4 separate regions of the Homo sapiens genome follow, and regions 2, 3 and 4 are each linked to region 1. Evidence: promoter capture Hi-C in human tissues and cell types (Jung and others, 2019). All regions are on one chromosome and are shown on one strand. Each heading gives the region's core, a stretch centred on a gene start or on the middle of the fragment in contact. The rest is flanking DNA. Distances are from core to core; before and after follow the strand shown.

Evidence for each region. Contacts are between HindIII fragments. The study calls those that stand out against the background at their distance.
Region 2: a contact is called between the fragment with the promoter of SEMA4G here and the fragment with the promoter of NDUFB8 in region 1, in 1 of the 25 tissues and cell types used here (dorsolateral prefrontal cortex).
Region 3: a fragment that was not itself captured here is called in contact with the fragment with the promoter of NDUFB8 in region 1 in 1 of the 25 tissues and cell types used here (lymphoblastoid cells).
Region 4: a fragment that was not itself captured here is called in contact with the fragment with the promoter of NDUFB8 in region 1 in 2 of the 25 tissues and cell types used here (IMR-90 fibroblasts and bladder).

The regions. Positions count from the first base shown.
Region 1 is chr10:100,528,571-100,531,192 of GRCh38, forward strand. NDUFB8 (NADH:ubiquinone oxidoreductase subunit B8) reads right to left here and starts at 1,301. Exons shown (of 5, transcript NM_005004.4): 1 at 1,197-1,301; 2 at 810-936. The coding sequence starts at 1,281. RefSeq lists enhancers at 1-165, 1,008-1,590, 1,724-1,773. The HindIII fragment of the contact is 7,939 bases long and covers 1-2,622 here.
Region 2 is chr10:100,968,190-100,970,811 of GRCh38, forward strand. It overlaps SEMA4G (semaphorin 4G), which reads left to right and starts at 1,315. Exons shown (of 15, transcript NM_017893.4): 1 at 1,315-1,402. RefSeq lists a silencer at 1,272-1,331. The HindIII fragment of the contact is 9,481 bases long and covers 1-2,622 here.
Region 3 is chr10:100,823,456-100,826,077 of GRCh38, forward strand. PAX2 (paired box 2) reads left to right here. Exons shown (of 10, transcript NM_000278.5): 8 at 1,193-1,294. Among named protein-coding and RNA genes, the nearest start is that of PAX2, 79 kb to the left of the region's middle. The HindIII fragment of the contact is 3,113 bases long and covers 1-2,622 here.
Region 4 is chr10:100,805,466-100,808,087 of GRCh38, forward strand. It overlaps PAX2 (paired box 2), which reads left to right. Exons shown (of 10, transcript NM_000278.5): 6 at 965-1,140. Among named protein-coding and RNA genes, the nearest start is that of PAX2, 61 kb to the left of the region's middle. RefSeq lists an enhancer at 2,041-2,541. The HindIII fragment of the contact is 4,632 bases long and covers 1-2,622 here.

The DNA.
Region 1 (2,622 bases), core at 51-2,550:
GGGACCTCTTGCTAAGCTGGGTTTTCCCCAACAAATCCAGGTTCATCTGACACTGGCTTCGAACAAGGCTGCTCTTGTCCACAACATAAGAAAAAACAGGAAATGATGACAACTAGACATATGCTACAGAAAATGAGTGTATAACAAGAAGAATAGAAGTTGCTGAAACCAAGATTGAAAGAGTGACATTAGGACAGGAAATAAAGGCGATGATAATCACTTCAGATAATTAACCATTGGGATGTTATGTGGGTATGGATACGGAAGAGTGTGGAAGGGATAGGATAACATCAACTGGAGTACGTAAGGGGGCTGGCTGTTTAATCTGCTTAATAGTTGCTACGATTTCCACAGCACTAACAGAAAAACATTTTTTTTAAAGAGACATACACACAAATATAGAGTACTCCGTTTACAAATAAGATTCTCATGACAGGAGTCCAGCTCCAGCCTGGTCACATGCCTGGATGACAGCACCTGAGCGCAGCAGATGCTCAATCTAAATGAAACTCGACGCTCTGGATAGAGCCAAGGAAGGCTCCTGCTATTCGGGGGTCCTCGAGGGAGCCATTAAAACCTCGGCTTCCTCATTTGAGGAAACAGCCTGAGCCAAGGAGAAAATTGAAGTCCTCTCAGCTGCAGCTGCTCACCCACCCCCCTCCCACCTCCCTCCACAGAGAAAAGCACCCACTCCATTGACTCTGAGGGGTCACGAGAAGGTTCGGGAAAAAGGGTCACAGTCAAGCCACCCAACCCAGCCGGCCTTCTCCCATCACTACTTGGGTGCGAGCATACCCTCTCTGTCTCACCCCATGCCATCATCCGGGTAAGGTTCGTAGTCTTCCACACGCATATTATACTTCTTGGCGGCGGCGGCCCGTTCTTCTGGGGTCCTAGGATAGGGCCCCGGGAACATGTCCTTGGTCATGTGGGAGGCTAGAACGCAGAAGAGAACAGGTCAGAAGCGAGCCCGCTCTCCAGCCGCTCCGAAGGCTTCAAGTCGCAGGGGCTGCAGAGGTCCGAGCCCGGGACTTCGCAGGATCAGTGCGATCCTCCACCCCATTTTCTGGATATATCAACGCCACCTCCACTCCCTACCCGGAGGCTGCCGCCGCGGCATCTACGATCCCCCCTCCCGATACACCAAATTTCAGGTACCCCCTTCCCACACTGAGGTCTCGCCCGTTCTCGCGGACCTGTCCGTGCGCCCAGCGGCATCACGTTCCGGGATGCCCTTTGCAGCCACTGGACTCCCAAGACCCCGGCCCTGGCCACCGCCATCTTCACCTTCTTCACGTTTCCCTTCTGCACATGCGCAAAGGCCTGTCACGGCGGCTGAGCCGGGCCAAACGTGACGGAGGAAGCCGGGAGTGAAGAAAAGCCGAAGGGTTCAACAGGGGCGGGGTTTAAATACGCAGTTGGGAAGCCAAGGGTTGGATAGAGGCTGGGAAGGATAAGCGGGAAGAAGGGAAAACCAGGCAGGTCTCTGACATTTCAGAATGTTGTGTCCTTTTTCTCCCTGAGCTGACTTAGACCCATCCAGGGATGATGGGAACTCGGAACCTGAGCAACTCAGGTAGACAGCTTAACCACCTCCCCCAGGAGCTGTACTAGTGAAATGAGCCTGTCTTACTCTCTTCTCTGGCTGCTTGCTTTCCTCTCCTTCACGGGCACTTCCTTCCATCCCCAAACATGATCATTCTTCAAATTCACCTGTTGGTCTTGCTTGTTGTTCTGTTCTCCAAATGGGTTGATCTTCACTTAGACGCCAGTGCAACACACAATTCGGCCCTGAATTGGCTCCTTAGTTTCAGTCCGTGTTTCCATCTGCATGTCTCAGTCACCTCAACCCAACAAATGTAAAATTAAACTTATCACCAGAGGCAGCTCTCCAGAGACAGCTTAAAGCCTCAGAGTTGGTAGGACTTGGATAAAACAAATTACAAACCGGCCCATAATGAACAAACTAACTCAACAGAAGAATTGGAGACATTATTATGTTTGCATATGAATGTTTTCACTTGGGATTTGAATAACTTACACATTATAAATATGCACGTATTTCCAGTGACTTTTCAGGTGACCACTGTTTTGGAGCAGAACCTATTATTATAAACATTCTCAAGTATATATCAGAGCAATAAAAATGCATATAAGCTGGGAGCTGTGGCTCACACCTGTAATCCCAACACTTTGGGAGGCCTAGGTTGGAGAATGGCTGGAGACCAGGAGTTTGAGACCAGCCTGGGTGACATAGTGAGACTTCGTCTCTTTTTTTTTAAGTTATAAAAAGTAAACAAATATGGATATATACTATTTAATATATAAATTTTGGGAAGGACTACACAGCAACTTGCTGTCTTGTAAATGACATCACTAGTTGATGTTCAGAATAATTGCACAACATCTGCATTCAACCAATAGCAAACCCTGATCCAATTTAGGTCAAGAAACAGAGTTGATCTAATTTATTTATTTTTATTAAGATATTATTCACATACCATAAATTCACCCTTTTAGGCCGGGTGCGGTGGCTCACGCCTGTAATCCCAGCACTTTGGGAGGCTGAGGTGGGAAGATTACTTGAGGTTAGGAGTTCAAGACCAGCCTGGCCAACACAGC
Region 2 (2,622 bases), core at 65-2,564, 440 kb after region 1:
CACACACATCCTATTTGCAGAGTGTTGGGGGAGGTGGAACTGTGATGTGGGCCCTGCTGTCTAGCAGTCTGCAGTCACACACAGCCATCCAAACTACGAGATTGTATATGATTCAGTGCCAAACTGTGAGCTTTGGGGAATCCAGAAAGAAGGATGAAGCCTTTCCCAAGTTTCCTTTAGTTAAATGTGCCACTTGAATCCTGTTCTGACTCCTAGGCACATGCAAGAGTCAATCACATATGTTCCTGTGGCCTTTATCATTTTGGTCCATCTCTTGAGCCCACATGAATACTGTCATGGATGGAGGAGGAAGGACCAGGCTGGGTCAGGGCCTGAATGCAGGTTTTGTTTGGACTATAGGGGCTAAGTTCACTTTAATAGGCTGTGACCTATTAAAGGAGGCAGGAACCAAGTTTGCACAGAAGGACCATCCTAGTTGAGTTAAAGGAGTTGGGGAGTTGATTGTGAGGGGTTTCCTAGATTGCTGCTGGGTAAGGTGATTGAATCTGGGAAGGATAGGGTACTTGATTGCCTAGAAGGGTGCACTCTAAGTTCTGGATAAGAATGGTGCCCAAGATGAGCTGGAGGGGAAGGCAAGTGTTTGAATGACCCAGTCCCTGAGGTGAGCCTAGGTTAGGGTTAAGATTTGGTGAGTGAACAGGTGCAAACGCTTGTGGCTTATTTATCCAGAAAAAGCATTTTCTGTGTGCCTTTCAGGTCAGGCTGTTACTTTATCCCCTTCAGGCCTGACCCCATCTCCCCCACGCATAGCTCAAGCTGAACAGCCCCTGAAGCTGGGAATCAAGCCCCTACCTTGTGTTCAGAGCTTCCCTAACGTCCAGTCGCCACCTAGGGTAGCCTTCCCTCCACACCCTAGGCCGAGAGCAGAAGCGGGTGGCAGGAGCACAGGGAGTGAGGTCCAGGTTAGAGGACAGGCCAGAAGGCCCTCCGAGAGGGTCCCCCAACCCCGCAACGCCAGGACAGGTTTGCACGTCCCCAGCAGTAGGCAAGTCAGGGGGGTCCTAGGGTTACAGCGGAGGAGAGGACGGGCTATAAGCATGTGGAGGGTGCACGGGGTGGCGAGGCCACCACCAGGGGGCGATTTCAGGGCCGCAGCGCCTAGAGGTGGGGGGTCGCCCGATGGCCGAAGGCTGTGTGTGAGCCTCGCCCTCAAACCGCCTCTATTGTGCTAGAGTAGGGGGCGCAAAGAAGAGAGTGGCGACCTTCCCCTCACCCCACCCAGTCGGCCCCGCCTTTCAGGACCCCGCCCCACCCCCGGCTCCGCCTCCACCACCCCCCCCCCGCCCCGCCTCCAGCCGCGGCCCCTTCCTCTCGCAGCTGGTGCTGTGGGGCCGCGGAGCCGCGCGTCGCTGTCTCTATGGCCCCGGATCCGAGCGCAAAGGTGAGCAAGGCGAGGAGTGCGGGCGGCGCCCTGGCGTGAGCCTGGGGCTGCGGGCCGGGGGTCGGGCAAGGCCTCCCCCACGTCCATTCTACCCTCCAAGCTGGGCCAGGCCTTTCTCACCACCAAGTCCCCCGGTCCTGCATGACGGCTCTAGAGGGGCGCGGGCCAGGCCTCGGGCTGCGCGGGGTGCAAACCGGCCACCACGGAGTCGGGGACCAGCGCGGGGAGGGGGCCGCGTGGCGAACAGTGTTCCCCAGGATCTGGGTCACGTCTCCCGGCGTCCGGCGGGATCGAAGGAGAGCTTGTCCTCGAGCTGCAGCAGTAGAGACTGAGGTTAGACCTGACGAAGGGAGAGGACCGCGGACTGTCCAGGATGTTGGAGGGAGGGGGTCCCGGGGGAGGGGCTCTCTCAAGCCAGGAGAGACCGCCATCCTACTAGGCAGAGGGAAATACCGCCTACACTAGGCAGGTGGACATCTGGGATGAAGGTCGAGAGCCTGCTGATCCTCCATTGATCCTGTTTGAAGGGTCTCTCCTCCCCAGTTCCCTCCACCCCAAGATCTAATAGAGGAAAGGTGATCAGAGTTCAGGGGGCTGGCCCTGGGGAAGAACCCGAACTGTGGAACTTGGGGTGGAGTGTGGGGCGTGGACTGGAGACCTTAAACCCGTACTTCGCCACTGAAGGGAGGGGTGATATGCTCCGCCCCGCCCACTTAGCCCCGCCCCCTCCCACAGGTTAAGTGGGGGCTGAGAGCTCCAGCCCGTCTCCCACCTTTAGAACCGCAATATACATAGGGGTGGAGGAGTACTAAATTATGCGTTCCATTCCATCTTTGCTGAAGCTAGGGGCCTCCTCCTGCCTGAGTTACTTTCCCATTCCCTCCCTTGTAGAGCGGCCTTGACTCATGCACCCATCCCATCTGCCCATCCAAGGTCAGAAGCCTCCCCCATCACCACACACACACACACACACAACCCCCTCACCACCCCCACACACAAACACACACTTGAAATTGGGCCTTAGAATTGGGACTTTCAGGAACAGAGGCAGGGTTCTGCTCTGCATCTCACCCCAGTGGACACTGGCAGCCTCCAAGCCTATGGCAAAAACTGGACCCCTGTATGCATGTGTGCTTGTCTCTGCATGGATGTAGTTGTGTGTTCAAGAACTGCGTGTGAGCACACATGTACTTGACCCTTCTGTGAACATGATTGCCTGG
Region 3 (2,622 bases), core at 35-2,534, 290 kb after region 1:
AGAGAGATGCTTTGGAATAGCCATTGGGAGAATAATGACTATGGCCCAGCTGATGAAAAGAAAGTGAACGGGCCCAGGTATGCATAGTTCTGTTACTTTCTCCAGCCATGCCTTGCCTTCCCAAGGATAGACAGAGGCATTAGAGTAATAGAGTGGCATTGGCTAGTGAGGAGAATAAGGGGAATCTGGAGGGGTTAAGGGGGTTCCAGGAGGTCCAGGAGAGGATAAAGAGATTATGGCAGAGGGGAGAAAGCAAATTATTATTAGAGATCAGAGCATGCTAAATTGCAAAGGGAGGTGGTGGCCCCTTCATAGCCATGGAGGATGCAGGCAAGGTAGGGAGCCCAGTCATGTGCAGCTGTGTCCCAGAGGACATGTCGGTGGACCAGGGGTAGCACCCTCATCTTGACTCGCTTTGTCTCCCACCCTCCAGGCTTTAGCTGATAGAGCCCTCCAGGGACAGAAGTCCAGCAGCTGGTGGGGGAGCAGATTTTGCTCATTGGAACTTTATCTGGTCCACTTGCACTTTTGGCTCAAAGCTCCTGATTCACTTCAGGGTGGTTTTCTATCATGTAAATGCCATAAACACTAACAGCAAAATAGCCCACTGGCTGCCCCCCTGCTCTCCACACCTGCCAGGACCAGGACCTGCAGCTCCACTTGGAGAGGACAAGGAATAGCCATCAGTCCCTGTAGGGGTGATGGTGGGGTGTCCTCCAAGCCTGAAGGAAAGATGGGGTGTTAGGGAGAGGAAAGATAAGCAAGATGATAGAGGTCCATTTGGCTGCTGGAGAGACCACAGCTGAATATCTTGCTGAGAAGGAGGAGTAAAACCAGGTCATCTCCCTCCCATCTCCATCTGGGTTTGGAATGCACAGAGACACAGGCAAAGGCAGATACACACACACACACACACACACACACACACACACACACACACAAATACACAGAGACACAAAGAGCTACACAAAACAGAGATGCGTACACACAGCTGATCATAGACATTTAGCTTAGACACATGCAAAGGCACACTCAGATGGCGCATTCAGGTGCACAGTGGCACACATACCCCTGCACGTCTGCACAGAGCTCTTTCCTCTCCAAGAGTTTCCTCTCCGTGCAGTACCCTGGTGTGAGTAGAGGCAGGCCCCTTTCTTCCAGGCCTCACCCCTTCCCCTTTGTGTTTTTCCAGGTCGTGACATGGCGAGCACCACTCTGCCTGGTTACCCCCCTCACGTGCCCCCCACTGGCCAGGGAAGCTACCCCACCTCCACCCTGGCAGGAATGGTGCCTGGTAGGTGACAATGCTGCAGCTGCCTAATCTAGGTGGGGGGAACTAAATTGTGGGTGAGCTGCTGAATGGTCTGTAGTCTGAGGCTGGGGTGGGGGGAGACACAACGTCCCCTCCCTGCAAACCACTGCTATTCTGTCCCTCTCTCTCCTTAGAGGCTGCAGTTGGTCCCTCATCCTCCCTCATGAGCAAGCCGGGGAGGAAGCTTGCAGAAGTGCCCCCTTGTGTGCAACCCACTGTATGTCATGGCCCCTCCACAGCGCCCACCCACCCAAGTCTGTGCCCGAGGAGCACTCAGCCTCAGCTCCACCCTCAGTGCCCAGCCCACCCCAGCCAGCTGACACTGCTTGGAAGAGCCTGCCCTGGTTTCCATGGAAACTTGGAGCCAAGAACCATTTCCAGGGGCATGTCAGTCACTCAGACAAAGCCACCCTGGTCCACACCAAGACACAAGGGAAGACCAATGTTGAGAACCAACCCCAACCCCAACCCAGAGACAGTAGGGAGCTAGTCCCTAAGAGGAATGGAGGTCAGGCTGCGGCGGGAAGCAGGGAGAGTCGCTGCAGTGAGACAGGCTAGAACACCCCTATACCTCTTCAGAGGCACCCAGCCTTCCATTGCTTCCCTGGGGCTCTGACCCATCCCTAATCAGAGGAGTTGGGTTTGGGTTGTTTGAATCAGAGAGACAGAGGCTGTATTTAAGGTCTGGTGACTGCAGCTGGAGGTTGTACTATACCTAACCCCTAACCCCAGATTGGGAGCAGGGTCTTGAAGCCAAAGAGAGTTGAAGTTCCTATGTGCACAAACACCAAAACACTCTTGTCTTAAGGAGGGTTAGACTCACTCAGCCAGCAACTCACTCCCTCTGGCCGCCCTCTATGTGGCCTTTCCCTGAAGTTCAACTCTCATTGGTATGGGGAATGGGGAGGATAGAAGAGAGTGGTTGGCCCCATCCATCCAGGGACATTTAGGTATAACCCTGGGTAAGCAGAGCTTGGGGTAGGGGCAGCGGCAAAGAGGGAGATTGCTGCTGGGTCTTATGGACTAGGGGCTGAAGGGAGTTAGAGGTGTGGGTAAAGGGATTCCTGCCCAGATTTAGGGGAAGGAAAGTAGAAGCCTTGTTGGGAGGCAAGGAGATTTTAGGGAGAAACTCCCAGCAGTGAGCAGGTGGGGGCTGGAGGAGGTTTTAAAGAGGTGGGGTGAGGGAAGAGTGGGGAGGTGGGGGCAGGGAGTCTGCAGGGAGGTGGGGAAGAGGGGAGCCGCAGAGAGCTCGTGGTGTCGAGGGGGGAGTCGTTAAACAGAATCTAGTGCTGATGAGGAAATTACACTTG
Region 4 (2,622 bases), core at 63-2,562, 280 kb after region 1:
TCAGAGAGAGGCCACAGAGCAGGCACATTGCCTACTGTACACCTTGAAAACTCCAAGGAACCGACGCTGGGAGGCAAGGATAGGGGAGGGCTGAGAACGCCTGAGGAAAGGGGACATGGAGACAGGATTGGCCTGTAGACTCAGGGGAGCAGGCACCGGTGTGATAAGACTCTGCTCCCTCTGGAGACTTGCAGGAGGAACCAGGTGACCAAGAAACTGGCTCCTGTAGGAGGCTTGAGCCTGGGTCTAGGTTGGAGACAGAGGCCGAGAAGGCGGCCAGGGCATAGAGGCATCCACAGGGGCCCTTCTGTGGGCTCTGCCCAAGCGGGAGCTTTGCTGCTCTAGCGACACCTCTTTCCTCCCGCTTGGTTTCCCTCTGGCCTCAGTCCTGGCCCAACCCAAGCAGAGTGCCTCAGCTCTGCCTCAGAGCCCCTCCTCCCTCAGGGCGAAGTTGATTACTTCACCCAGTCTCCAGGTTACACTCGGCCTCGGAAATTTGATGGTTTTCAACCCTTGGAATTAGTGGAACTGAAATTCATCTCGGAGCCGAGTTCAATTCTCCACAGGCTCAGTAATGCCAGTCTGAGACACCCAGCTTCTTTCTTCCCCAGGCTGGCCCTGGCTTGGGGGCAGGGGGTGGTTCAGGGAGACATGCCCCAGGGAGCTGGCTCCTGGGAGCCCCCTGGCTCCACCTCTGCCTAATCCTTCCTGACCCCACAGTGTGACCGCTCCATCTCTTACCAGGTCCTCAGGTCCTTCTCTTCCTTGGGCTTCCTCAGCCAGATCTCTGAGGCAGGGCCACCCTCTGGTGTCAGCCCCACTGGCCCAGGGGCTGAGAGTAAGGGGTCCCATAGGGGTGCAGAGCTCCTGGGCCCGGAACCAGATGCCCACCTCTTTGCCCTGCACTGTTCCTGTGCCTCTGCTGGCCTGGCGCTAACGCCCCGAGTGTCCATGTGTTCTCCAGATGTGTCTGAGGGCTCAGTCCCCAATGGAGATTCCCAGAGTGGTGTGGACAGTTTGCGGAAGCACTTGCGAGCTGACACCTTCACCCAGCAGCAGCTGGAAGCTTTGGATCGGGTCTTTGAGCGTCCTTCCTACCCTGACGTCTTCCAGGCATCAGAGCACATCAAATCAGAACAGGTGAGGAGGGAGCTTTCTGCTTGCAGAAGTAGAAAGGAGCCGGCAGAGCAAGGCCTCTCAAAAACTTGTTCACTAAACACCACATGCATAGCCAGCATTGTATGTGTTACACACGTGTGTTCTGTGTGTGTGCAGTGTGAACAGGCTCACATGAGACAGTATGGTATCGTTAAGACAAATCATTATGGTCTGTATATGGTAATTAGAAATGAGTTCTGGGTGCAAGAGTATGGCCTTGGGTAAATCATCTCTGTTCAGAGCCTCGGTTTCCCCATCTATAGAATGAAGGGCTTGGATGTAGGGTTTGTCAAGTCCCTTCTAGCTCCGCTTTTCTGTGGTTCTTGCATGGAGTACTCAGGAACATCCTCTTGCTGTGTCCCTTGCCCACACCCCCTCAGGGTCCTACAGAAAGTCTACGCTAGACTGGGGAGCTCTCCTTGCCCAGTGTCAGGAGAGCCTGCCTGTGCCTGCCTCCTGCTCCCCAAGCCAGCAATTCAATGGAACCCTAGGTAGGCTGGCAGCTTCCCACTTACACCCAACACTTTCTGCAGACACTGAGCAGCCCAGGACACATAGCATGGGGCACAGCATGTAACACACCAGCAAAACGCACAACGCAGAAACCATCTCCGAACTTTTCTATGTGCTGGTGTGCATGTGCTCACACTCCACCATCCACCTGCTCCCCTCACCCACAGCCCATGGTACTGTGCTCACACACCACTGTCCACCTGCTCCCCCACCCACAGCCCACGGTACTGTGCTCACACACCACCGCCCACCTGCTCCCTCACCCACAGCCCACGGTACTGTGCTCACACACCACCGCCCACCTGTTCCCTCACCCACAGCCCACGGTACTGTGCTCACACACCACTGTCCACCTGCTCCCCCGACCACAGCCCACGGTACTGTGCTCACACACCACCGCCCACCTGCTCCCTCACCCACAGCCCACGGTACTCACAGCTAGCCCCGGCAGCCGCATGGAGCCAGTGGGTGTGTGCTGCCCCCAGATCACCAGCTCAGCATACCCCTAGCATATGCCTCCACCCACATACGCTGGGTGGAGCCCCCAGCACACCCGCTCCCACACAGGGGCACACTCCCATCCCTGCTACACATGCAGCCCAGGCCAGGCCCACAGTCACAGCACAAGACAGCATTGCTGTGCTTGCATGCATGCACACACGCACCCACACATGCACGTCAGTGCAGCCCCACAGCGTTGAACGCTGTAGTTCCACTCTTAAGACTCCAACAGCTCCCAGCCACTCGCCTTTCTCCCCGCCCGTCCTTTTATCCCATAAGCTGTTTGTCTTCATAAAACAAAAATCAAAAGTCTTTTTAAGGTGCCCTGAGCCATAAACCAACAAAGGAGGAGCTGGCCGAGGCGGGCGGCTCAGTGCACCCTCCCTGAGTCCCCGCCTGTATTACAATGAATAACCTTTATTTACTTTCATTAGACTATTAAACACCAGC